Linked DNA regions of Homo sapiens: all the other regions are linked to region 1. The links are contacts of gene promoters, found by promoter capture Hi-C in blood cells and fetal thymus (Javierre and others, 2016). All regions are on one chromosome and are shown on one strand. The core of a region is centred on a gene start or on the middle of the fragment in contact, and the rest is flanking DNA. Distances in the headings are between cores, read along the strand shown. Region 1 holds the start of TG (thyroglobulin). Region 2 overlaps LOC105375771 (a long non-coding RNA gene). Region 3 overlaps LOC105375771 (a long non-coding RNA gene). Region 4 has its middle 23 kb from the start of NDRG1. Region 5 overlaps NDRG1 (N-myc downstream regulated 1). Region 6 overlaps CCN4 (cellular communication network factor 4). Region 7 has its middle 13 kb from the start of CCN4.

The links. The method cuts DNA at HindIII sites, captures the fragments that hold promoters and counts their contacts. A CHiCAGO score of 5 or more calls a contact.
Region 2: a fragment that was not itself captured here is called in contact with the fragment with the promoter of TG in region 1 in 5 of 17 cell types (non-activated CD4 T cells, naive CD4 T cells, monocytes and 2 more); the score reaches 6.8 in non-activated CD4 T cells.
Region 3: a contact is called between a fragment that was not itself captured here and the fragment with the promoter of TG in region 1, in 2 of 17 cell types (activated CD4 T cells and naive B cells). The highest score is 5.1, in activated CD4 T cells.
Region 4: a fragment that was not itself captured here is called in contact with the fragment with the promoter of TG in region 1 in 1 of 17 cell types (activated CD4 T cells); the score reaches 5.4 in activated CD4 T cells.
Region 5: a contact is called between a fragment that was not itself captured here and the fragment with the promoter of TG in region 1, in 6 of 17 cell types (naive B cells, total CD8 T cells, activated CD4 T cells and 3 more). The highest score is 7.2, in naive B cells.
Region 6: a fragment that was not itself captured here is called in contact with the fragment with the promoter of TG in region 1 in 15 of 17 cell types (activated CD4 T cells, total CD8 T cells, naive CD4 T cells and 12 more); the score reaches 15.7 in activated CD4 T cells.
Region 7: a contact is called between a fragment that was not itself captured here and the fragment with the promoter of TG in region 1, in 12 of 17 cell types (activated CD4 T cells, naive CD4 T cells, naive CD8 T cells and 9 more). The highest score is 9.1, in activated CD4 T cells.

What each region holds. Positions count from the first base shown.
Region 1 is chr8:132,865,382-132,869,043 of GRCh38, forward strand. TG (thyroglobulin) reads left to right here and starts at 1,577. Exons shown (of 48, transcript NM_003235.5): 1 at 1,577-1,686; 2 at 2,734-2,842. The coding sequence starts at 1,620. The HindIII fragment of the contact is 3,355 bases long and covers 1-2,134 here.
Region 2 is chr8:133,368,400-133,372,061 of GRCh38, forward strand. The region is part of intron 1 of LOC105375771 (a long non-coding RNA gene); the gene reads right to left. Among named protein-coding and RNA genes, the nearest start is that of NDRG1, 73 kb to the left of the region's middle. The HindIII fragment of the contact is 2,753 bases long and covers 559-3,311 here.
Region 3 is chr8:133,347,547-133,351,208 of GRCh38, forward strand. The region is part of intron 2 of LOC105375771 (a long non-coding RNA gene); the gene reads right to left. Among named protein-coding and RNA genes, the nearest start is that of NDRG1, 52 kb to the left of the region's middle. The HindIII fragment of the contact is 8,125 bases long and covers 1-3,662 here.
Region 4 is chr8:133,318,817-133,322,478 of GRCh38, forward strand. No RefSeq gene overlaps it. Among named protein-coding and RNA genes, the nearest start is that of NDRG1, 23 kb to the left of the region's middle. The HindIII fragment of the contact is 853 bases long and covers 1,316-2,168 here.
Region 5 is chr8:133,236,628-133,240,289 of GRCh38, forward strand. It overlaps NDRG1 (N-myc downstream regulated 1), which reads right to left. Exons shown (of 16, transcript NM_006096.4): 16 at 548-2,492. The coding sequence ends at 2,251. Among named protein-coding and RNA genes, the nearest start is that of CCN4, 47 kb to the left of the region's middle. The HindIII fragment of the contact is 510 bases long and covers 1,625-2,134 here.
Region 6 is chr8:133,219,893-133,223,554 of GRCh38, forward strand. It overlaps CCN4 (cellular communication network factor 4), which reads left to right. Exons shown (of 5, transcript NM_003882.4): 3 at 689-949. Among named protein-coding and RNA genes, the nearest start is that of CCN4, 31 kb to the left of the region's middle. RefSeq lists an enhancer at 2,846-3,347. The HindIII fragment of the contact is 1,239 bases long and covers 1,318-2,556 here.
Region 7 is chr8:133,176,419-133,180,080 of GRCh38, forward strand. No RefSeq gene overlaps it. Among named protein-coding and RNA genes, the nearest start is that of CCN4, 13 kb to the right of the region's middle. The HindIII fragment of the contact is 1,779 bases long and covers 744-2,522 here.

The DNA.
Region 1 (3,662 bases), core at 327-2,826:
ATAAATATTAAGACACAAACACACACAGGGAAGACCAAGTGAGGATACAGGGAGGAGATGGCCATCTGCAAGCCCAGGAGAGGAGTCTCCAAAGAAACCAACAGTGCTGACACTTTGATCTTGGATTTCCAGCCTTCAGAACTATGAGAAAATAAATTTCTGTTACTTAAGCCACCCAGTCTGTGATAGTTTGTGATGACACCCATAGCAGACTAGTACAGTAGCTAACACTGGATACTTATTATGTGTCAAATACTGTTTTAAGCACTTTGCATATTTTAACACATTTAATATTCATAGCAACCCTATTTGTGGAAGGTAGTACAGTCTACGGCACGGCAGCTATATCGGCCCCTTTATTTTCCCCAGGGTTTGGAGTCTCTTCCACTTTCCAGCTTGTCCTCCTGCCCTTCACTCTACCCGGGACCATATCCTCCAGATTCTCACAGGTCCCTCCATCTCTCCTCAGGTGCCAGGCTCAGCAACCTGCCCTCATTACCTGCCAGTTCCTGACCCTATCTGTCACTAGCTCCTTACCTGGCTGGATTGGTCTTCTGAATACTTGCCATTCCCTGGCATGATGCTTTTGCAAAATAAGAAAATCAATAATAATAATAATAACTGCTAGTGTCTAATAAGCATGTGCTCTTCAATGTCTATTCTCTTACAACTACCTTAACAAATAGGGACATATTATTATTCTCCTTTTAACTTTGCTTTCCAGAGAAGGAGGCTGGGGCTCAGGGAGATGAGGTGAGTTTTTCCAGGTCTCACAGGAACAGGACTGAAGGAAGGAAGCCATGTTTGCCAGGAGAAACCAAATGGACATACAGGCTTTCTGTGGAATACACAGTTCCTGCTATCTTTTGGTTGACAAAGTCTGAGGTCCTAGGAAAGAGAGGAAAGTAATAGAAATATGAATATGAGTGTGTGTGTATTTTGCTTCCCTCACCAAAGTTTTCACAGTCTATATTAATGAGGGCACGATTTTGCCTGTTTTGTTCTCTGCCATATCCTCATTGTCTAGATTAGGTGCCTGCTACTGTGGAGCTCTAAGAGGTTGTTAGAGAAAGAATAGAAGAAAGAAAAGAAGGAAGGAAGGAAAGAAGGAAGAAAGAAAAGAAAGAGGGAAGGAAGGAAAGAAAGAAGGAAGAATGAAAGGAAAGAAGGATAGAAGGGAGAAAGGAAGGAAAGAAGAAAGAAAGGAAGAAAGGAAAGAAGGAAGGAGGAAGGAGAAGGAGAAAGGGTAGGGTGGGGAAGGAAAGAACAAAGGATTGCTTTTCCCTCACTGTGGGCTTGAGCCTGTTCCCTCCAAAGATACAGAGCTTTGGTCTTTACCCATAAAAAAGGATTTTGAAGTCACCCCACCCCGTTCTGTTCCCCCACAGTTTAGACAAGATCCTCATGCTCCACTGGCCACACGAGTGCCCTCAGGAGGAGTAGACACAGGTGGAGGGAGCTCCTTTTGACCAGCAGAGAAAACAGGATGGGGCACTGCCTCACTGAGGACCTGGGGGTGGGAAGGAAAGTGCCAACGGCAGCTCTATAAAAGCTCCCTGGCCAGGGGACCTAGGGCAAGCAGTGGTTTCTCCTCCTTCCTCCCAGGAAGGGCCAGGAAAATGGCCCTGGTCCTGGAGATCTTCACCCTGCTGGCCTCCATCTGCTGGGTGTCGGCCAATATCTTCGGTAAGTTCTGAGGCCATGGAGCCAGGCGGTGGGGAGGGAGCTCCAGTGTCAGCCAGGCTCTGCCCTGGGCCTTCGAACAGGTGCGATCTAATTTAATCTTCACAAATTCCCACATGTCAGTGATTTGCTTTTTTTTTTTCAGATGAAGAGGCAGATTTAGAGAGCCGAACTGAATTACTTGAGGTCACAGAGCTAGTGATTGATGGAGCAGAAATGGGAAATGTGGTTGATCTTCCTAATTCAATTCTAGGTCCTCCTCACCCCACCATTTTGGCAAACTTTTGGCATTGACCTTGGGTTTTTATCCCCTTAGCTATTCCAAAGTCTGTGTCATCCATAACAGGTATTTTAGAAGCAGTAGAAAAAGAAATCTACCTATGAAGTGAAATAGCCCTAAGTTCTGTCTTTGGCTCAGCCACTTACCCATATGACTTCGGGCAAAGTGCCAAGCTTCTGTTTTTTTTTTTTTTTTTTCATTTAAAAAGTAAACAAATAACACACACCTCATGATGCGGTTGTGATTTCTGGGTAGGACCCTATGTGTTACAAGAGTTCTCAATGGAAAAATAAGTCATGTACATTATTAATTAATTGGTATTTCAATGTTTATCTGGAACATGTTACATCTGCAGGGCATGGCTTGATAGATTCAAGAAGAACTTCCTTACGGTTCTCTAACTTACTCCAAATAGCCTCATGGGAATTGCGGCAGGGTGGGGGCGGGCGGGGAACGTGTAGTCCCAGCGTTGATTTTGGGATCCTTCACTTGCCAGTTACGTGACTTTGGGCAGACGACTTTCGCTGCCTGAGACTTGGTGCCTCATGAGTGACAAGGATATATTGCCTGTCACCTCTTAGGAGAATGTTGCACATTAAATGAGCTAATGTCATACTTGTAAGAAAGTGTGCTTAGCTGCCAAATTTTAAAATAGGCTGTCATAGGTAATGATGATGACCCTGGAAAAGCATCTGTGCTTATGAGAGCCCGTCTCTGTCCTGGCAGCCCAGTCCACACTCTTCTTTGATGAACCACTTTTCTTTTCCTAGAGTACCAGGTGGATGCCCAGCCCCTTCGTCCCTGTGAGCTGCAGAGGGAAACGGCCTTTCTGAAGCAAGCAGACTACGTGCCCCAGTGTGCAGAGGATGGCAGCTTCCAGTAAGGCTTATGTCAGCAGCGAACTCTCAAGGTCCAAGATGCCATAAAAAGCATCTTGTGCCTTCCCCCCTCTTCCTGAGCTCTGCCCTGCAACTCCTTTGTGCATGTGAGGCTTGGCCACTGTCATTTGGAGGTGCCTGCCTTTCAGTTCCACTGTCATTTGGAGGTGCCTGCCTTTCAGTTCCCCAAGCTGTTCAACACTGGACAATCTGACCAAGTGAACCCCAATCCATGCTTCATCCTCCCACTGCCCTCCCTTCTCTTCTTGCCATCACTTTTTCTGTGATGGCTTGAATAAACGGCACGTGTGGGGAGTGGGGCAGGTTGAGGAGAGTGTCAAATGATCTGTGCTTTGGGACCTCTCCCTCCTCCAAGTATCCTCTTGAGAAGCTGGGGTGGTGGAAGCAGAGGCTGCCTTGACTTCCTAGTCCTTAGCTGCCACCGACCCTGCCCGGACTAGCTCTCTAGGCTGCCTCTGGGCTTCTGGGTCGCTGTCTCCACATTGAGCTGCTCTCTGAAAGGGGTTTCTCCAGCTGCCCTAATGCAGACTTGGGGCCTGAGACCCTCTCTGTGGAGAGTGTGGTAATAATCTAGACAATTCTTCCCTGCAGAATAGACAGGAATCCTTTGCAATGTGCATGCATTGAAATTTCCTTGTGCTATTCCAGTCATGTTGAATCAGGGGAACTCCATTTATATAACTGCGTTCTGGGAAATGTCTGTGAAACCTCCCTCCCTGCTGCTATCTTATGTACACTCTTAATGTGCCTAACCTCCCACGAGTGTGCAGAGATGCTGCTAGAGCAGTCCCTGCTTAGAT
Region 2 (3,662 bases), core at 685-3,184, 500 kb after region 1:
TGCAGTGAGCCAAGATTGCACCACTGCACTCCAGCCTGGTCAAGAGAGTGAGACTCCATCTCAAAAAATAACAAAATTCTTGGCAAAGGGAATAGCAGGTGCAAAAAGCCCTGAGTCAGAAACATACTTGGCATAACTGAGGACCAGCAGGGAGTCCAGTGGGGCTGGAGCAGAAGATGTGAGGCCAAAGGTATGGAGGTGAGGTTGGAGAGGGTCTAGGTTGGCCATGGGGCATTGATGGCATCAGTGCATTTGGGGTCTTAGGGGCTATGAAAGGACTTGGTTTTAACCCTGAGAAGATGTAGTGTAGAGTAACCAGCTGACCCAGTTTGTACCAGATGGAGACGATTCCTGGCATATGGGAATTTCCATGCTACAATCAGGAAATAGACAAAAGAGAAGAGGCAGGAAGACTCAAAGTATGAGGCGATTGCAGTACCCTAGGCATGGGAAGATGGCAGCCTGGCCCAGAGAGGTAGTCATGAGGCAATAAGAACAGACATGGGCAATCCCTGCATGGCATGGTTTCCCCCAGCTGCATGGCATGGGCACCTTACAAGCTTCCCAAGGGTAATTTTGATTACACAAGACTTCGACATAACCAGTTATAAATTAACTGCTGCATAAAGTACAACTTCCTTGATGCCATATGTTCGGCAATGTCCCCTGGGTCCCATTCTGCCCAGCAACCACAGGCAAATGGGCAGGGTTTGAGTCCAAGGGGTCCTCATCATGAGGCTTCCCCCTGCCCCATGGCAATGTAGAATCTCCTCTGCCAAGCTGGTTTCAACTTCCTCCCACTTCACAGCTGTTGGGCCTTAAACTCTAGCCTTAAACAAGAAACACAGCACTGCCGGGAAAACCCAGGAAACTGGCACAGGCTCCCTGAACTCAGTGATTCCCCTGCTGGTTTTCTTCTCATGCCATATGGGCCAGCTGAGGCCAGTTCCCACAGTTTGCAAGGAGACTCCACGGTTCTTGGACACGTGTGTCTTGGTCCCTGTGGTGAAGGGACCACTTCCCCAGTGGGAGCCATGGAGACCCCCTGCTCTCTGTGTCCATGGGTTACTTTGGCAGTGGTTCCCTAGCACTGGCTAGGGACTGGACATTCAGAGAGAACTGGGGCAGCCCAGCCCCGCCCCTAGGAAGAGAGATGCAGCCCGCAGGGAGGGAGACATCACACACACTTCAGTTCAGTTGCAGGGAGCCAAAGTTCTGACAGATGGAGGCCCAAGGGGATGGGGAGGCTCAGAGGAGGCCCGGGTTCCTTCCTGGAGGAAGTGGCAGACAGAGGAGGACTAACCAGGGGCAGAAGGGGAGAGGACGTGTCCCAGGCAGCCCAACAGCTGGAGTGGGAACAGGAAGCCCCATGCCTGTGGTGTGGGGGTAAAGAGGCACAGAATTTCGGTTTTGCCAGAGTGAGAAAGTAAGACGGGAAGGAGCAGAAGGAGAGGAAGAGAGGCGAGGAAGTTGGCCTCCTCCCTATAGCAGGGAGCTTGTAGAAGTTTCCATGCCAGGCAGAGACAGGGGCATCTTTCTCTGAACCATCCCCCAACCCCAAGCCTTTGGCCACCTGAGCACCCAGCGGAGGCCCCTCTGCCTGCCCCTCACACTGCACATGAGCGCCCTGCACCCGCCTCTCAGCACTTTGCACCCTCCCCTCCCTGCTCCACCCTACCTGCAAGGAAACAAAAGGCACTTTCTCCTTCCTCCCATGACCCACTTTCCAGGGCCAAAGCAGGCTGCTGACTTGATAACCTCGGCCATAGGTACCCTGCCCACAATAACATGTTTGCTCACACCCAGATTCCAGTAGGGCAGGGCCCGATAACTGGAGTGATCTTCACCACAGTGCCTCAGATGCGAAAGGAAAGGGACCTCCCTCAAGGTCCCTCAGGTCCCACCAGGCCTGGAAGTAGGTTTCCAGACTGAGTCTCCCATCACTAAAGGTAATCAAGGATCGACCGTGGAAAGATAGAGATGGTCAGGGAGAATTGGGACCAGCCAACCTCCAGTCTCCAACCTCACAGGGTCTAATGCCCGAATTCGGTGTCTACCTCCTTGTTTATTCACTGCCAATCAGTCTGCAAGCATTCGCTGAGTGCCCCTGGGTGCCAGGCAAAGACGGGGCTGGCTTCCACTCCCAGCTCTGTCTCTCGCCAGCTGTGCAACCTGGGACACATAGCTTATCTCTGTGCCTCATCTACAAAGTGAGAATTCAGAGTTACTGTGAGGGTCAGAGATAAGGCATGCAAAGTTCCCTCTATACTGGAAGTGCTCAATAAATGCTAACTGTCATCATTCCTTAAGACATGAAGAGGTCTGAGAGCTCTGGAAAGTTCTGACATTATAGGGTATCTCTGCTGGCATCCCACAGGCCAGGAGGCCCTGGTATTAGCAACTTGCTCCTTTGCAGGGAGACAGCTGGTCCCACTGAAAATGTAGACACCCTTGTGGCCACACGTTCACCTGCATGCACGCACGCCTCACACTCAGCCCCCATGCCCTTATTACAGCAGTAGCTTTGAGGGGGCTATTATCCTCCCCAGTTGTATAGACACAGAGGTAGTGTGTCCAGGGCCACCCGGAAAGTATGCAGCAGCAAAAAGTATGAAGTCCAAGCCTCTCGGTTCCACAGACATGGTGCCTGGGCCATTTCCAGACATATCCGTGCATCCCATGGTGCTGCTCCTGGAGTGTCCTTCCTGGCTGTTCAAGCTCCAGCATTTCCTGCAGGCCCCAGTTCACAGGGTCCTCCCTGAGAGGGCTTCCTGTAGGTCCTAGCAGAGTTTTAGGTTTCCCCTCAGCTCCTGCAGACCTTGCACGTGGCTCTATTATGGCCTTTTGGAAAACCACCATTAATTACCTGTTTATGTCTCCATTCCCCTGATGTGGAGCTGCCCAAAGTCCAAGACCTTGACTTGAGAGGCAAATCTGTTATCTTTCAGACCTTATCTCGCTCTGCCCTGGGTCACAGTCATTTAGGTTTCTGCCTCATCTCCCTAGCGGGCTGTCCTCACTTTAAAATATTTTAAAAACCATTTTTGTGTCTATTAGCCAGACTTTTCCTAGCCACAACTAGGTTGAGGCTGACAGTTTCCAAACCACAGGTTGGGGGCATAGGCAGGAGGGGAACATGCTGAGGGAGAGGGGCAGGGGATTGCCATAGCCTGGGAAAGTTGGGGACAGGGAGGAGGGAAGAGAAGAGGAAGCAGGAGGAGGAGGAAGGAGGAAAAGAGAGAAAGGAAGAGGAGGAAGAGGGAGAGAGGAGAAAGAGGAAAAGAATGAGGAAGAGCAGAAAGGAAGGAGGAAGCTTAATGCATATAAAATGCACAGTGAAAACAGGGTTGACTGAGGTTCAAATGTGCCTCCCCGGGCAGGTCTTTCTCCAGCTCAGCTCTGGCTTCCCAGGGCCTTGTTTCCAGGTGCCCCTGTTCCAGGCCCACAGAGAGGCTCTTGTGTGGCTGATGCAAGTCGGCCATGGAGAAGCTGTTTCCAGTAGGCTCTTTGCTGGTGGAAACCTGCACCTGCCTAGGGTCTGGTACCACACTGTGATGGGCAGCCTAGCTGTGGGCCCAGATTCTGAGGCTGGCTTTGGCACCAGCTGGCTGTGTGACAGTGAGCAGGCTACTAGGACCTTTTGAGCCTCTATTTCTTCCACC
Region 3 (3,662 bases), core at 754-3,253, 480 kb after region 1:
GGAGGCGAGTTTTTCCTGCGCTGTTCTTGTGACAGTGAATAAATCTCATGAGATCTCATGGTTTTAAAAAGGGGAGTTTGCCTGCACAAGCTCTCTTTGCCTGTCACCATCCATGTAAAATGTGACTTGCTCCTCCTTGCCTTCCGCCATGATTGTGAGGCCTCCCCAGCCATGTGGAACTATAAGTCCATTAAACCTCTTTCTTTTGTAAATTGCCCAGTCTCAGGTATGTCTTTATCAGCAGCCCATCTGCAAGCCACGATGAGAGGCCTCAGAAGAAGGTCACCCTGCCAAAGCCTTCATTTTGGACTTCCAGCCTCCAGAATTGTGAGAAAATAAACAAATTTCTGTTGTTTAGGTCTGTGTTATGTCTTACGGCAGCACAAGCAAACTAATATAGCAGTTAATCTGTGACACATTCCCAGCGTTTAGGAATCCTTATCATTAAACATTACAGGTGAAGAAGGTGAGGTTAGAACAGATTAAGTCACCTGTCCAAGGTCATCCTATTAGAAAATGGCAGAGCAGACGCTCAGACCAAAAACTGTCTTATGTCAAACTCCCACACCAAACTGTCCTCCAAAAAATGTCAACAGAAACACCAACATACTCAGAATGTTGTATGGACTGGGAATGGTATAAGATTCCTGCCCTCTGCCCCACTTTCTTGTGAAATTTTCTCCAGACCTGAGAGGACCAATAAATGACCCCTCCCTCACTCAACACTTCTGTCCTCTCTGGGCCACATATATTGGGGTTAAGAACATGGAATTTGGAGTTAAACTGGCCAGGATCTGAGCTCCTGGTGACTTAGCCATGGGTTTGCTGTGTGAAGCTGGGTGTGTTATTTAACCTCTCTGAGCCTCATTTTCCTCATGGAGAAGATTCATTTGCTCTCAACCTTGTGAAGTAACTGTGGGAACTCAGGAGACAAAAGCTGTAGCTCATGGCCCAGAGCTTGGCCCCAAGGGGGACCCAGTAACTCAGAAGACTCAGGGCAGGAGCCCCAGGGCAGCTCTTCTCTCTGGGCTGGCCTCAGCAGCATCCCCCTCTCCCCTAAGAGGTATCTTGGCCACCAAGGGGCTGAGTCTCACTGGGCTGTGTATCTTCAGAGCACAGCTCAGTGCCTGGCTCCTAGTAGACCCTTGGGAAATATGGGTTGTACAAATTCAAGTGGAAAGAGTAAATAGAAAAACAAATCTGATTGGAAACTTCTGTGATGCTGTTTGTGCTTTTAGATATAATCTCCTGGAATCCTCTTATTATTTTAGTAATTTAGAATTTTATTAAGCTCCTTAAGAAGATGCCAGTCGACCTTGTGGTACTACAGGGTGCTGGCCCATTCCAGAGCTGAGCTTCAAAGTGGGTCGGTGGCCTAGGTATAGTATTCTCTCTCATGGGATCTGAACTCTAGGTCTTGTGATTCACACAAACATATGCGGGGTGGCCCTCAGATGTAATTTAAGGAACCTCTCCAAGGGACAGGGCCAACTCTGGCTGGAAGTGCCATAAGTCCACTAGTAGGGTGGGCAGAAAGAAAAGACATGTGGGTGTGAAAAGACATGTGTGTGTGATGTTCCTCTCCCACCACGGGAAGCATCCAGGGTGCCAAGGCTGGCCCACACCACCTCTGTGACCTCCCTTCCCTACCCTGCCAACATCCAGTCTACTCAACACTATATCGTGCATTTGAAGCCCGGCAATCGTTTTCTAGGGCACGACTTAGAAACTGGGACATAGATCACTATTGATTGGTGAAGACCAAGAGCATTTCCTCACAGGGCAGAAAAGGTCATTGGCAATTCATTTATTCATTCACCCATGCATTCACTCACTCAAGAAATGCTCTGATCAAGTGCTTGCTGACCTGGGGGTTGGAAAATAAGTGAGACCTGGTCTCTGCCCTCTAGACACTTCTGGCCAAACACAAACAAGCATGACGCTAAATGCCCACAGTGGTGTGTGCTTTGCAGAGCCAGGTATGGCACTGGGGGAATAAGGGGTCAGCATCTTAACCAACCTAGTGTGAGGGAAGGGAAGGAAGGGGGCAGGGGGACAGGATGGTCTAATTAATAGAAGTGCTGGTCTTTAGGTTCCTGCTCATGAAAATACAGCATATACACCATCATCTTTATTCTCCTAAGAACTCCAACAAGATTTAATTCTCAGCCCTCATTTTACAGACAGAGTATCAAGGTTGACAGAGGTGGGGTAATTTTTCCTAACAAGAAAATGATGCAGATGGGATCTGCACCCAGATGCCTGATGCTGAGTCCAGCCACTACCATCAGACAATCAGGAAGGGGCAGATGCAACTAAGACAGAAACTCAAAAGCTGAGAAGGGGAAGAGCAGCCCATCAGAGCTGCAGTTAGCATGGCAGAGCAGGGGAAAGGGTGAGATATGGTAGGGCAGAGGGGGAGGATTGAGACCTAAGGGCTCTCGCCTGGAGCCTCCATTAGCTCAGGGTGGGGCAATGCCCAGAGAAGTGAAGGGAATTGTCAAAGATGCATGAACCCAGGGGCAGAGCAAGAATTTTGACCCAGCATTCTCTGCATGAGAACCTGCTGTTCTTGGCTGGGTGTGCTGGCTCATGCCTGAAATCCCAGCACTTTGGGAGGCTGAGGCAGGTGGATAACTTAAGGCCAGGAGTCTGAGGCCAGCCTGACCAACATGGTGAAACCCTGTATCTACTAAAAATGCAAAAAATTAGTCGGGTGTGGTGTGGTGGCACACACCTGACACATGGAAGGCTGAGGCATGAGAATCATTTGAACCTGGGAGGCGGAGGTTGCAGTGAGCCAAGGTTGCGCCACTGCACCCCAGCCTGGGTTACAAAGCAAGACTCTGTCTCAAAAACAAAACAAACAAACAAGCAAAAAACTGCTGCTCTTTCCTCTGCAGGGGCTGCCTGGCCAGCCCTGGTCAACCTTGGGCCTGAGAGGAGCCAAGGTCAGCTGGGCAGTGAGGTGGGGGATATGGGAGGGAAAGAACCAGTATCTGCTTTTTTTCTCTTCTAGTTAAATAAAAGCTCAAATAACAAAGGTGCTACCTAAGCCCTAAGCCCTCGTGCGCACAAGGCCATATCCAGATGGATTCGCTAGGCTGGTTGGTCGAACTCCTCTGGAGACGGGGCCAAAGCTGGCAAATATTTAACCAGGGAGGGGACGGGTAGGTCCCATGCTTCCCCAGACCTGCACGACTCAGCCCTAGCGATGACCCCAGGTACTTGGAAAAAGTGCTGTGTGAGATTTCTGCCTGAATCTGCCTCCCTGTCCCCTACCACTGTGGTCTGGGGGTGTCTCCAAGCAGCTGCAAGCCTGAAAAGTGCAGGATCCATCTTTTGCTGGAAAGAAAACTTCTCCAGACCCTCAGCACTGAACAGCTGAGGTGAAGAAATCTTCTACAATCAGGGCATAAACGCTTAGAGGGAAGGTTTATTGTCTCTTCTTTACAGATGGGGAAACTGAGGCCCAGAGAAGGGAAACCCTTGCCTAGTGTCACCATAGCAGAATAGGGATGTAAACTCAGTCTCCTGACAGCCAGTTGTGGGCTTTATCCTCCCCAGCTTAGTCTGCCCGGGCTGCCATAAACAAATACCACAGACTGGGTGGCTTAAAGAACAGGCACTCATTTCTCACAAGTTTGGGGGCTGGGAAGTCC
Region 4 (3,662 bases), core at 492-2,991, 450 kb after region 1:
AGACGGGTTTCACCGTGCTAGCCAGAATGGTCTCGATCTCCTGACCTCGTGATCCGCCCGCCTCAGCCTCCCAAAGTGCTGGGATTACAGGCGTGAGCCACCGCGCCTGGCCGCCTTTTTACAAGCAGTAGGAGGGTTGGGTCTCACCAGGCCTTCAGCTTGGTGGATGTTTGCTCATCTGATAGGTGAAAGTATCTCATTGTCTTGATGCATTTGCATATCTTTTCTGTTGATGAGATGACATCATTTATGTCATGTAATTATATTTGTCCTCCAGGAATTACCAGTGAGAGATCCTATTATTAAAATATATAATCTCAAGAGCTTGTCCTGTCTCTATGTCCACCCATAAGTAATAAAAATCCCACCCCACCCTTTCTCTTCCCCACTCCACGTCTGGAACCATTTATCAGCTCCCAGACTTGAAGCCAAACCTGACCTCATTGCAAAGTCCTTGGTTGTGCTAATAAGCAGCTACCGGGAACTGGGCTAAGTCACTCCCCTCTCTGAGCCTCAGCTGACAAAGGCTTAGCAAATGAGAGAAACGTGGAAGTGGAATAGAATTATGAACTCTAACTTTAATAAACTAATATATGTTGAACATCTATTATATTCCAGGTACTGTGATAGATACTTTGCGTTCTTCATTTCTGAATTTTGTAACAACCCTGTGAAGCAAGTATTATAATCTCCATTTTACACATGAGGAAACTGAGGCTAAGAGAGGTGAAGTGACTTGCCCATGGTCCCACCGCTGGGAAGACTAACAGGCCTGGCTGATTCCCAAGAATCTGCTCTTTCTGGGAGGACCCAGTGCCATCAACATCTCTGGACAGGCATATGGAATGACTATCATTAAATGGTGTCTGGAGCATGTCTTATCAGAAATGTTCTTGGGGAATCCCTTTTTTCCCCTATGCTGGTCCTATTGCTGTTTTTTCCATGCACCCCTCCAGAATGTGGTGGGGACTCTTCCTTGCTGGAACACCTCTCCGCGGCTCAGGGCCCACTTTAGTTAAGCTCTGCAAGAATGAGAGGAGGCTCATCCCTCCTTTGGCTCTGTTCTTTGTCTTCACCTCCTGTTACCACCACTTTCCTCACCTCTTGGCTTCTCTGAGTCTCACCTGTCCAGGAAGCCCTCCATGATGAAAACTCAGAGTTAACCTGAAGACCTTTCAGAAGAAAAGAACAAGAAGAGAGGGCTTGCCATGACTAAATGTCAACCCTACACAGGGACTTCACCTACATCATTTCATGCAATTAGCACTCCAACTGTAGGAGTTATTATATCCACATTTTGCCAATGGGGAAGCTAAGCTTCAGGCAGGTAAATTTCTGGACCAAGTGTTCATGGCGAATGAGAAGAACTAATACTTATTTAGCATATAAGTACCAGGGATGGTTATAAACCACTTGTATGTAATAACCATAGTCTTCAACACATCTCCAAAAGGTAAGGTACTGTTTTTAACATCCCCACTGTATAAATGGAAATACCGAGGCAGAAAAAAAATAATTTGCCGAAGACGTCCAGTAGAGCTGGGATTGGAACCCAGGCAGTCAGTCAAGTGTGTCCCTAACCACCATTATCTGGATGACCCCAAACCTCCATGGTTTCTTTTTCCTAAGCAACCAAGTGTCTTCTGAATGCAAAGGTTGGTGGGGAAATGCTTGAAGTCAACATTCTTCCTGTGTAGTCTGAGGAACCTGACACCCAGAGAGAGTGTTCCTGGCTCTAGGTCCCAGGTCTTATGACTGCAGATCCAGTCTTACCACAATCCAGCCCACACTGCCTCTACTCAAAGGGAGAAAGGGCATTGCTGCTGATCTCACCTCCTCCCTGCCCCCTCGGTGGTGGTGGGCCAGGACTCTCTCTGAAACAGTGATCATGGTTTAATCACTAGGTGAGTAACCATGGGAGGCTTCCTGGCTGATTATTAATAGAAGCTGGAGAAGGTGTGCGTGTTTAGCAACAGGCCAGCAGTTTGGGATGCCAGGCTGGCTTGGTCTCTTGGTTTCTGGAGTCATCTGAATGATTTGACTCATCTCCTGGCTGAGGGCTTGGCTTCTTACTTCTGAGACACCCCATTCCCAAGGCAAATTGCTGCCTTGCCTCTCTCCTTACACTCATTTACATCATCTGTTTCCAGGCTGCCTGCAGGAACTGAAGCTTCTAGACAAAGAGACCTGGGTTTAATCCTTGCAGACCTTAGCTATATTGTCTAACCTCTTGGGACGTCAGTTTCCTCATCTTTGAAATGGGCATGCCAACATCCAACTTCTCATGAGGACTTATGGAGATGATTGCACAGCAGACATTCAGGAAGCTGCCACCATTGTGACTAGTACCATTCGGAGGCTGCCACGCTGGAACCTGCGGGCCACAGGCCCTAACAAAACTGTTCCTTTGCTGCAAATGTCTTTTCCAGGTCTTTCCCCCTTTTCTTCACATTGGGAGTGACGGTCCTATGGGGAAGAATAATGTGTTGCAATATTAGAGAGTGAGGTTCTTCTTTTTGTTTTTTTCAGCAGGGCTCTTGGGAAGAAACCTGGCCATTTGAGCCCACTTTACCTGGGGGTCAGGGTGACTGGGCCTAAAGCAAGACACAGTCATTGCTGGCTTTTGTTTTGATAAAACTTAAGGCATGAAAATATTTGATCAAGAATTCCAGAAGGGAAGGAGAGAAACTTAAAGTTGGAGAAGGAAGAACACTTTGCCTGAGCTGGGGGCAGGGTCTGGGGTTCTGTTAGCAGCAGGGACCCTTGCTCCTGCCCTAGGGAGGTAGACAGGCTGCTATGTCCTCAGCCCACCCTCTCTGGAGAGCCTGGTGCCCAGGCAGCAACCCCTGCTCTGAAGAAACCCTGAGTTCCCCAATGCCTGCCTGCTCTGTAACACAACCCGTGAAACTTTGCTTGACATTGGTGCAGGGGAACTGGGTGTCCGCTCATGACAGAGACTGAATTTCCCCACTGAGCCAGCGGAATGAGGACTGCAAGTCCCCACGGACTGAAAAAAAGTAAGAAAAATGGATATTTCTTGCACACCTGAACTTGTGACCTCAGATTTTTGCCCACCACCCCTGTGTTGGGACCTCTGCCTCACTGCAAGGGCCAGAGCAACAGTGCATGAAGCTCCCATGTAGAAAACAGGTCTTGAGAAGAAATGTCCATGATAATACAGTGGCTGCAGTTCTGCGAAGGAGAAGGCTAGACCTGTGCCGTTTAATACAACAACCGGTAGCCACACAGGTCTGTGTTTAAATTCATTCAAAGGAAATGAAATTAAAAATTAGCCATGTTTCAAGTGCTCAATAACCCTTGTGACCAGTGGCTACGGAGACTGGCCAGCACACAGTTCTATCACTGCAGAATGTTCTATTGGTCTACCGGTTTATTTGTCTAGACAATTCCATCTAGAGTAAGGAACACGGAACAATTCCCCAAAAAGCACTGGAAAAAAACTTTCTTTACCCTCTGCACAACAGGTGAAGATTACCTCTGTTTTCAGGGACAGTTTTAATGATTCCTAACAGTCAATGTGGAGGAGGAGGCCTACAATTATGCATGGGGGTGGATACAATTTGTGCGGAGGAAGGATGTGTGTGCAAATAACTTCTACCTGGCAGGCACAGGAAGTTTGTGGACACTTTGTTCCTCGAAAC
Region 5 (3,662 bases), core at 630-3,129, 370 kb after region 1:
ATTAGCGAAGATTGTGCCACTGCACTTGAGCCTGGGTGACAAAGTGAGACTACGTTTCAAAAAATAAAAATAAATATTAAAAATAAAAAAGCTGTTTTCCTCGAATTATAGGTTGGAAAGTTTTTTATCCTCATCATTGTGCTGCCCAAGCTACTGGGCAATTGAAATGCAGCTGGTCTGAATGCATTGCGAGTGTGAAACACACTAGAGTTCCTAGAATGAAAAAAGAATGCAAAATACCTGGTCAATAGTTTTTATAGAAGTGGTAATATTTTAGACGTCTTGAGATAAATGAAATGTATTATTAAAATTAATTTCATCTGTTTCTTTCCACTTTTGAAAATGTGGCCACTGGGAAATTAGAATTAACATATGAGCTGACTTAAATTTCTGCTGGACGTGATGCTCCGAGGAAAGAATTCCAGAGATGAGGGGCTGGGGTCCCCTAGGTGTCAAGGACGGGCAACCCCCCAGTGAAACAGCCATCCCTGCACTGCAATGTTTCACACACACAATCTCTCAGGGACAGAAAAAAGACACAAGCCGCTGCAAAGTTACAAATTTATTGGTCTGGAAATAAATACAAATATCTCATTAAGAAACTCCTCTGGAAAGACTTGTGCACAATAGTTTCCCATCCGTACTCAGCCTCTCTTGCCCCGATCCCCGACTTTTCTACTCAAGGCCAGGGAAGGCCTCCAAGGTGATGGGCGGCAGGTAACGAGTCATTGCCTCTCACGCCACCTGGAAGGCTGGACTACTTCCTCCTCCCAACTGCGGGGTCCCAGAAATCCTCGGGTCCCAGTGGCTGACTTACAATATTCAATTCACTCTGACCAAACTTCCTATGAGAAAATCCACGGTGAGCCAAAATGAAAAGTACAAGGCAGTAGTACAGGAACCTGGCAGCCGCACTGGCCGCCCAGAAACGTCAGTGGTGCTGCCCCATTCGGCGAAAGGTTAGGGAGCAGGAAAAGAGGAAGCAGGAGAGGGAAGGAAAGTCCCATGGAATATGTATTCCAGAATCCTTACATTTTCTCAGCCACCGCTCCCCACGTGAGTTCCCACCCCCACCCCGACAAGAGCAAAGAGTTCTGAGGATCCAAGAACGTGACCGGGTCAGACAGGTTCAGCTACTGAGTTCACGTTCCAGCCCAGCTGTCGAAGATTGAAAACTGGATTTAAGCCAATCACACAAAATTCCTGGAACCAAGCTGGGATCCACAGAAATCACAACTGCACTGGATCTCAACACAACAACAAGGAATCCCTTACATCGAGTAACCCCAATTCCACCCCCACCCCAGTGCTCCTACTCCGGCCCCTGCAAGGACACTCATCACAGCCAGGGCAGCTGTGGAATGTTGCCCTCCATTCTAAGGAATGCAAAACAAATCTAAATGATCTTCTCCCTGAACAAGAATAATCACTGGCTCATGTATCAGGGGTGGGAGGTTGGGGCTGTGGAGGAGAGGCAGAAAGCAGAACTAAAGCCTTCAAAAACCATGATGCCCAACGTTTGCTGAAATATTTTTGTCTGTAAAGCCAGGAGATTTTGTCGCCTGCTTTTGCTGCACATTAAGAGGATGCTAGAAAAATCAAGCTTGTTTGCTTCTGCATTCAAAGCTTTCTAGATGCACCAACTTTAAAAATCGGTTTCTTCAAGTTAACTACGTAGATTTGTTGTTCCAAATGCCTCTAGCCTCGACATGAATCCCACCTTTTCCCCCTTCCTGTTTTGCCTGTTTAAAAGAGGTGCCTGCATGTCACTATTACCCCCCTCCCCAAATGAGAAAAGGATTTTGTTTCCGGAAACTGGATCAGCTTCTCCTCAGTTAAAGAGGAAACGGGAAGTGGGCGGCTGGCCTTCTGACCAGGCACCCGTTTGAACCAGGATGCTCAGGGCGGCCTAGGCTTGGCTTTGTGAAGTGTGTGCTGCTACGCGTCTTGTTTTTGGCAGTTTGGTGTCTCTGAGGGAGGGGAGGAGAGTGGCAACCGGCCACTGGTTAATGGAAGAGGATGCGATGCGGAGATGCTTGCTTCCTTCCTTTGGTCCACCGCCACCCCGCCTTTGGAGAGGGCACCCACGTAATAGACCTCATTTGTCTCCACCAGAGCTCACTCTTACAAAATAAGCTTTGGATTAATACCGAGTTAGGCGCAGTATGGCAGGCAGGGGGCGAAAAGGGGCCGGGGAGGAGGGGGCCACTACAGAGATCAGAGTCCGGGGGCGGCAGCTGGGCAGGCCGCCTAGCAGGAGACCTCCATGGACTTGGGCCCGGCGCTGTTCCCAGCAGCACCCGAGTTGGGGGTGATGTCCAGGTGGGCCCCCTCGCTGGTGTGCGAGCGGCTGCGGGTGCCCTCGCTGGTGTGGGAGCGGCTTCGGGTGCCCTCGCTGGTGTGGGAGCGGCTGCGGGTGCCATCCAGAGAAGTGACGCTGGAACCAGAGGCTGTGCGGGACCGCATCAGGCGGGTCATGCTAGCCGAGGGCACTAGGGGAACAAGAGACAGCCGGTTAGAGGGCAGGAGACTGCCAGGTGAGGAGCCAGGCATGCCCGTCCACCAGCCACATGCTCTTCTACGTGCCAGCCCCAGAGAAGACTTGATCCCTGCAGCCATCCAGCTGCTGGGCCCCCGTCCTCTCCATGTCCACTCGGAGAGAGAGATGGCAAGGCCCAGATGCGGGAAGGAACTGCCGCAATCACACCATGAGTGACTTGAACCCAGATCTGGGTCTGAACCCCAATTCTGCCACCTGTTAAAAGCTGTGTAATTTTGAGAGTGTCCCCCTGAGCCTCCCTGTTCCCATCTGTAAAGCAAGTATGTTAAATACTGACCCCTGGTATCAGCACCTGTGTGTACGCCCATGACCCCATGCTGTCCATGATCACTGGAGCAGGGAGGACACCTGGGGTCAGTGGCCCTGCACATCACAGGTGGGGAAAGGGAGAGGGGCCACACGGCAAGTTCCCGGCATGGCTATTCGTTGTCATCTCTCCCAAAGAAGCCTGTCAGCCCAGGTGCTAACAAGGGCGCTGTCTATTCTTTGGGATCTTCTCTGAGACCTCAAATGCTCTTGCACATGGCACGTGCAAGTGGCACATGCTGATGGGGTAGCACGTGCTGATGGGGTGGAATGAGGAGGAACAATCCTGCCCACCTGTACCGGGTGGGACAGTGTCCCGGAAGATTCACACCTACCTGAAACTTCAGAAGGGAACCTTATTTGGAAATAGGGTCTTTGCATATGTAATTAGTTAAGGATCTTGAGATGAAATCATCCTGGGTTGAGAGGGAACCCTAAACCCAATGACTGTGATGTCCTTATAGAAACAGCACACAGGGATATGCAGGGGAGAAGTCCACGCAAAGACAGAGGCTGAGATTGGAGTGATGCAGCCACAAGCCACATAAAGCCAAGGATTGCTGGGGCCACCAGAAGCCAGGAAGAGGCATGGAAGGTTCTTCCACAGCAGCGTTGGAGGGAGCAAGGCCCTGCCCACACCTTGATTTTGGACTTTAGGCCTCCTGAACTTTGAGAGAATGGATTTCTATTGTTTTCAGCCACCCAGTTTGTGGAGATTTGTTACGGCAGCTTTAGGAAACTAGTACTCCACCCAACTGAAGCATCATGGCTAGGAGGCCACACTGAGTCAGACATC
Region 6 (3,662 bases), core at 687-3,186, 350 kb after region 1:
CCTCAAAAAGTGTGTTTATGTAAAATTAAATGAGCTCTGGCAGCTAGCTGAACATTTTTTTCTAAACAGGGAAAGGGTTATTAATAAATTTGCAACTGTCTCCCCCCGCCCAACTCCCCCTCCCTGCTCCACTTTTCTCCCAGACACTTGTAACTGCCAACATTCCATATGACCTTTCCACAGCATAAGCTCTTTGAGGGCATGTCTTTTGTCTGTTTTGTCCACTATTGAGTCCCCAGCACATAGAAGGCTCCATGAATGTGTATGGAATGAATGGAACACGTGTTTCGAAGTGTTCTGGCTTTTTTTTTACAAGTCGGTCACCTTCAGAACCATGAGCCCTAATGGCAGGTCTTTGTCAGTACCAGGCTTTGTGCCTGGTGCTGGGGACCCTGCAGGGAGCAAACCAGCCAAGTCCCTCGGGAGGCTGCGTCCTTCCACTCCCTGGGTGCTGGCTGAAGCTATAAAGGAACTCCTGCACTCCCTTTGCTGAAGTTCCACCAAACACTCAGCCCTGCCCTGTGCACTCTCACACCTCCCTGCCTTTGCCTTTGTGCCTCTGTTCCTCCTCCATGCTGGGAGCCATCCCCGGGATTGGGGCATGGTCCACATGGAGCCCCTATAAAGGCAGCTGGGCCAGCCAGGGGCACCAAGGCCACTGGGCCTGACCGGCCACCTGTGTTTGCAGAGGTGGTCGGTGTGGGCTGCGTCCTGGATGGGGTGCGCTACAACAACGGCCAGTCCTTCCAGCCTAACTGCAAGTACAACTGCACGTGCATCGACGGCGCGGTGGGCTGCACACCACTGTGCCTCCGAGTGCGCCCCCCGCGTCTCTGGTGCCCCCACCCGCGGCGCGTGAGCATACCTGGCCACTGCTGTGAGCAGTGGGTATGTGAGGACGACGCCAAGAGGCCACGCAAGACCGCACCCCGTGACACAGGAGCCTTCGGTGGGTGTGGGCCCGAGTGGGCTGGGGGTGGGACCCTACAAATGGGTTGTGGACCCTCCTGGAACTCTGACCACCATAGAATGACTCATTCCCCAGTCCACTACCTACTAGCTTTGTGACCTTGAGAAAGTCATACCTCCCCTGAGACCCTATTTCCCCATCTGTAAAACAGAAATAATCCCATCTGTCTAGTCTGTCCTGTGGGATCCTCCCAGCATAAAATGAGGAGTGCTTTGTAAAGAACAAAGCCCTAAAAGTGCAATCCATTATTATCCTACTAAAGAGTTAGGGATGGGTGGTGGAAGAAGGGTAGGTATGTGGGTACCTGAGGAGAGGAGGTATGAGCAAGAGGAGATGGGTCTAGTAGAAGCTTCATGATGATTTGGGGCTTCCCCCTTGCTATGAAGATGGGTGGGCAGGTGAGATTTCAGCCAGGTAAACCAGATAAGAGGAAGCCCTGGAAAAGAAGAGTGGGGACAGGCCCAATTGTTTCACTGCTGCTTACTGGAATCTAGCCCAGTGCCATACACTTAGCAGGTATCCAATTAATGTTTGTCATACTGATGGGTGGGCAGATGGATGGATGAAGAATAGATAGATGGGCGGGTGGATGGATGGATGGATGGATTGGTGAAGAGATGGATGGATAAATAGATGAATGTATAAATAGATGAGTGGATGGATAGATGACGGATGAATAGGTGGATGATGGATGGATGGAAGGATGATGAATGAATGGGTGGATTAATAGATGGATGGATAAATGGATGTATGAATAGATGGGTGGATTGATGAGTGGATAGATGAATTGATGGATAGGTGTATAAATAGATAGATGGGTGAGTAGATGGGTGGATAGATGAATAGACAGATGAATGTATGAATGGATGGATGGATGGATATATGTATAAATAACTAGATGAGTGGACAGGTGGATGGATGAATGGATGGATGGATGAATTGATAAATGGACAGATGGATGAATAGATAGATGGATTTATAAAAAATTGGATGATTGGATGGATAGATGATGGACAAATAGGTGAATGATGGATGGGTCAATTAATGGATGGATGGAGGATGGATGGATGGATGGATGGATAGATGTATAAATAAGTAGACGAGGGGACAGATGGATGGATGAATGGATGGATGGATGGATGAATGGATGAACTGAATGGATGGGTGGATGAATAGGTAGATAGATGTATAAATAAATGGATGATTGGATGGATAGATGACGGACAAATAGGTGAATGATGGATGGATCAATTAATGGATGGATGGATGGAGGATGGATGGATGGATGAATGGGTGGGTAGGTGGATAGATGGATGGGCTAATGAGGATCTGAACTAGGGCAGTGGGAGTAGAGGCAGTGAAGAAGGAACAGACACAAGAGGCATTGCTTGAGTAAGACTGAAGGTCTTAATGTCAATCTAATGCATGGGGTGAAGAAGAAAGAGGGACAGAGGCTGACTCCCAGGGCTTGTCATTGCCTAGGATCAAATACAAGAGAAGGAGCACATTTGGGCCAAGGGAGATCTACTCTGTTTGAAACAGACTGAGTTTAAGGCAGAGTGCCCTGCCCACGGGATCTTAAGAGAAGCTTCCAGTTTCTCTTTATGGGGAGGAAGGAGACGAAATAGGAGAGCTCTGAAGTCATCTGCTTGGAGCTGCTGGTGGTGATGGCTGGGATGGCCTGAGGGTAACATCCACAGTGAGACAGAGGGGGCCTGAGGCAGAGGTCTGGGAATGCTGACATGTGAAGGGTGAGCAGAATAAGAGGAGGCATGGGGAAACAGAGAGGAGGGTTGGGATGTATGAAGAAAACCAGGAGCATCTGATGCCATGGCAGGCAGCAGATGAGGACATTTCTAGAGGAAAGTGCTTACGAGGCAAGCAGTAGAGAGCAGTAGAAAAATGGCAATAGAGTGGGAGTTCTAAGAGTATTGGTAGTTTTTTTAAAAAAAATTATATATGCTAAAGATTGCTCAGGGACGGTGTGGGGCAGGTTTCTCAAGCTCGGCACTGTCAACATCTTGGATGAAGGAATTCTTTGTGGTGGGGTTGTCATGTGCACTGGAGGATGTTTAGTAGCAATCTAATGCATGACTACTAAATCCCAGCAATCTAATCCCTGGCCTCTACCCACTAGATGCCAGAAGCGCCCGCTCCCTCAGAGATGTGACAACCAAAATCATCTCCAGACCTTTCCAAATACACCCTAGGAGACAAAATTGCTCGGTGGAGAAGCAGTCCTGTGAGGATAGGAGGAGGCGTGGAGGAAAGCTTTGTCCCCAGCAGCCCCAGGGCAGCAAGGCAGCTCTCCCACCACCACCTCCCCAGGAGGGCCACACGAGGGTCACGGGGGGAGCAGGGAGGCAGAAGCTGTCTGCCATTGTGTCTGGCCCAGTGACCCTGTTCTGACCGAGCACAAGCGGAGCCCCTGCCTAGCCGAGGTGACCCAAAAACCAAAGCCTCTTTATCCTCCTGGGCAATTCCCTCCCCACCACCTCCCAAGATGCTTGCAGCTCCAGCTCCTGTCAGCCCTGCCCCTCCTGTCCTTGGATGCCTCCCATTTCAGGTCTTTCCCTCTCTCACTCAGTGATTCCTGCATTCATTCATCAATGTTCCCAGCACACCTATAAGCTTAGAGGAACTGACTTACCTTTCCTCTTTATCCTTCTAATCCTAGTTAGATTTCTCTTCT
Region 7 (3,662 bases), core at 383-2,882, 310 kb after region 1:
CTCTTCTGGGTTGAGTCAAGCCTGGTCTAACCTCCACCCTGCCTTGCCCCACATCCACTTGCCAGTCCTTGGAGAATTTGCACTTGTGGTTGACTTAAGGGAATTTGGCGAGAGCGCATGCAGAGAGCCAGAGTGCCAGTCCAGAGGCTCAAGCACGTTCAAATCCAACAGGTGTGTGAGGATGGCGGGGGTCCAGGGGTCAGATCTCCACTTTGTGTGTACAGCACACCAGCTTTACAATCTCCCCGAAGGGGCCAAGTGACTACAGATTCTGAATCACGATTTATAGCTCTGATTGTCTAGCAGGTGCCCTGCACACTGTGCATACTAGCACCATGCCCAGAAAAAAATCCTGATGGTGCCAATCAACATTTGTTTGTGGGTGGATAAAGGGCTGAGCTAACCCAAATGTCTGGTTTCAAATTCTAGCTCTGTTGCTTTTCAGCCATCTGTTATGGGCTGAATTGTGTCCATCTCAAAGTTTTTATGTTGAAGTCCTAACCCCCAGTTCATCAGAATGTGTATTTGCAGGTAGGGTCTTTCCAGATGCAATTGCATAAAGCAAGGTCATGTGGGTGGGCCCTAACCCAATATAATTGGTGTCATTATAAGAAGAGATTAGAACACAGACACGTGCAAAAGGGAGACCATGTGAAGACACAGAGCGGAGACAGCCATCTCCAAGGCAAGGAGAGAGGCCTCAGGAGAAACCAATCCTGCCAACACCTTGATTTTAGACTTCAAGCTTCCAGAACTGTGAGAAAATAAATTTCTGTTGTTCAAGCCAACAAAGTCTGTGCTACTTCATTTCAGCAGCCCTAGCAAACTAACACAGCATGGAATCTCTCTGAGCCTCAGTTTATTTCCCTGATCTCCTGTTTTCACAGCTGTAAAATGGGCATCATAATACCTGATATTGTAAGATTATTTTGAAAATAGAATGAATCATAAACTTAAAAGTGCCTGGAACATGGGAGATTTCCCCCAAATTTCAGTTCCTCTCCCTTTCTTTTCTGTGACCAATTTTTAATTTGTTCTTCTCCATTGCTGAATAGTATTCCATGGCATGGCTATGCTAAAGTTTCTTTAAACAATTACCCATTGAAAGGCATCATGGTTTCTTCCAGTTTTGGGTTATTACAATTAAAGCTGCTATGAATGATCCTGTAAAGGTTTCTGGGCAGACGTAAGTTTTCCTTCCTTCCTCCTCTTTCTCCCTTGTCTTCTTTCCCCCATCTCCTCCTCCCTCTCCTCTTCTTTTCATTTTCTTTCTCCTCTCCTTCTTCATCCTCCCTCTCCTCTTCTTTCTCCTCTTTTATCCTCCTCCTTTTCCTCTTATTTCTCTTCTACATCTCTTTCCCCTCCTCTCCTGCTCCTTCTCCTTTTCCAACCTCTCTGAAATTTGTTGCACTGTCCTGGATGCAGAGGAGTGAGGCTAACTGAATTTTCCAGTCTACAGCTCGTTATCATCCATGCAGCACTTGTTCGCCTTTTGGCTCCTGTGTTGCCCTTCCACCCCAGTCCCTCTCCAATCCTCTCCTTCACAGCCATAGGAAGCATCTCTAACATGTGTGTCTCTGAACATGTACATGTACATTGCAGGATGAGGTGCATCTGATTCTAATTCACATCACTGGTGCTGACTGGAGGTCTCCTCCCCGTTTTACTTCTTTCATTCAGCTCTGGGTATCAACTGTTTCCCTGTTGTTCTATGCACATCCATCTCTTGTTTTGAATGGCTGCTTTTACTTTCCTTTCCTTCAAATCAGATGCCTAGGCTGCCTCCTGCTCCTTGTCACTGCAAGCAATACCTGGATAAGTATCTTCCTGCATGTCCTTTTATGGTCCTTGGGAAAATGTCTCAGGGGCGTACACACAGAAGGCCATAGGGCACATGATTGCTTCATTTTATTAAGCAATGCTAGATTGTTCTGCAGAAGAGCTGCCCAACATACATTGGGAGGAGGGGTGTGGCCATGCAGGCTTCCCATTTTTAGTGGGTCATCTCCAGGAAGCAGGGGGAGTGAGAGGGTGTGGTTTTAAGAAAGCAATGAATCCCAGCCCTTGGTCCCAAGCATCCAGCACTTGACAAACAAGACCACCCATGGCAGATACCACATTTCCCATCCAGAGCTTGGGAGAACTGGATCTATAATAGAATATCATGTGCCTAGAATGTTTTTCTCCCTAGAGCAAGGACATGAACCAGTAGGAGATATATAGATATACATATACATTTAGAGATAGAGGTAGAGATATGGACAGATTTATATATAATTGACTTCTGTTACTATGAGGGCTTGCAGGTCCAAAATCCATAGGGCAGGCCTGCAGACTGGAGACCTTCAGGAAGGAGTGGATACTGAAGTACACATTTTTCCACCTAAATGTGGAATAGGGAAAAACTGTCTACTTGGACTTGTCCCTACAGACAGGACAATAGGCACTCAATGCTGGGCCCTTTCTTAGCCCTCCACCATATACCCATCTAGGATATTCTGGCCCTCATTAATCAAATTTCAAGCTTCTTCCCAATCTCTTTTTTCTTCCTTCCTTACCCTCCCTTCTCTCCTCCATCCATCTCCCCATCCCCGTGCTATTCAGTCACAGCACAATGATGGAGACTACAGACACTGTAGAGTGAACCCAGCATGGCCTCCCAGGCTTCTAATCCTAGCTTGTTGTCTATTAGCTGGATGACCTTGGGCAAGTTACTTAACCCCTCTGTGCTTCACATCTCTTTCTTGCCAAACAAGGATAATAGCAATAGAATCTACATTATCAGGTTTTTCTAAAATTACATGGCTTATCACATAAAAGGAACATAGAACAGGGTTGGCTCGTGGTAAGTTCTAAGTAAATAGGAGTTAATATTAGTATTTATGACAAGAACAAGGATTACAGCCTTTACTTCTATAGGTAAAAAGGGATGAAGAACAAGGAAACAAATACAATTCATTGTGGGAAGGTAAGACAGCAGGAGAACTTAGGTGGGTGAACAATACATAGTGGACATGGAAAAATGCCATGAACTAATACAATAACAGTTAAGTGAAAGGATTGAGACAGAGCGTTTAACTCTGTCTCTGGGGTCTCCAAAGGTGAGTTGGATTGCATGTGCCAATTTGGCTGAGGTTGAGAATGTTAACAACTAGAACCCCCTTCTCTGTATAATTCCAAATAGATGTATCCAAAAGTAAAACTTGAATGAGATTAGAAGGACAGAAGTAAGGATGAAGTGATAACTCTAGAAGATCAACATGACTATTTTAACTTCTACCTGGGTCAAGAACTGATAACATGCAAAACTTTAAAGGTCCTGGCACCTGCTCTCCTACAATATTTTAGTAGTAACAAAGAATCTAAGTACTTTAGGGTCGGTTGGTTGCTCTCCAGTACACTGGAGAACTTAAGGAAAGAAACTGATCTTCAGACTTTAAGTTCCCAGCTCAAAATCTGAATACTGAACCACAAAGCTTCTACTGTGGTCCTGAAAGAAATCCTTGTCTTTTGTAGCCAAAGGATTGACATTTATAAAAGCCAAACACAACACCACGTCCTGAGATGGCTGAATTATAATGCAAGTTGAATTCACAAATTTGCAAGGAAGGAGGAATTGGGAGAGTGGAACCCTCAATATTGAGTTGGGAACATATGAGCAG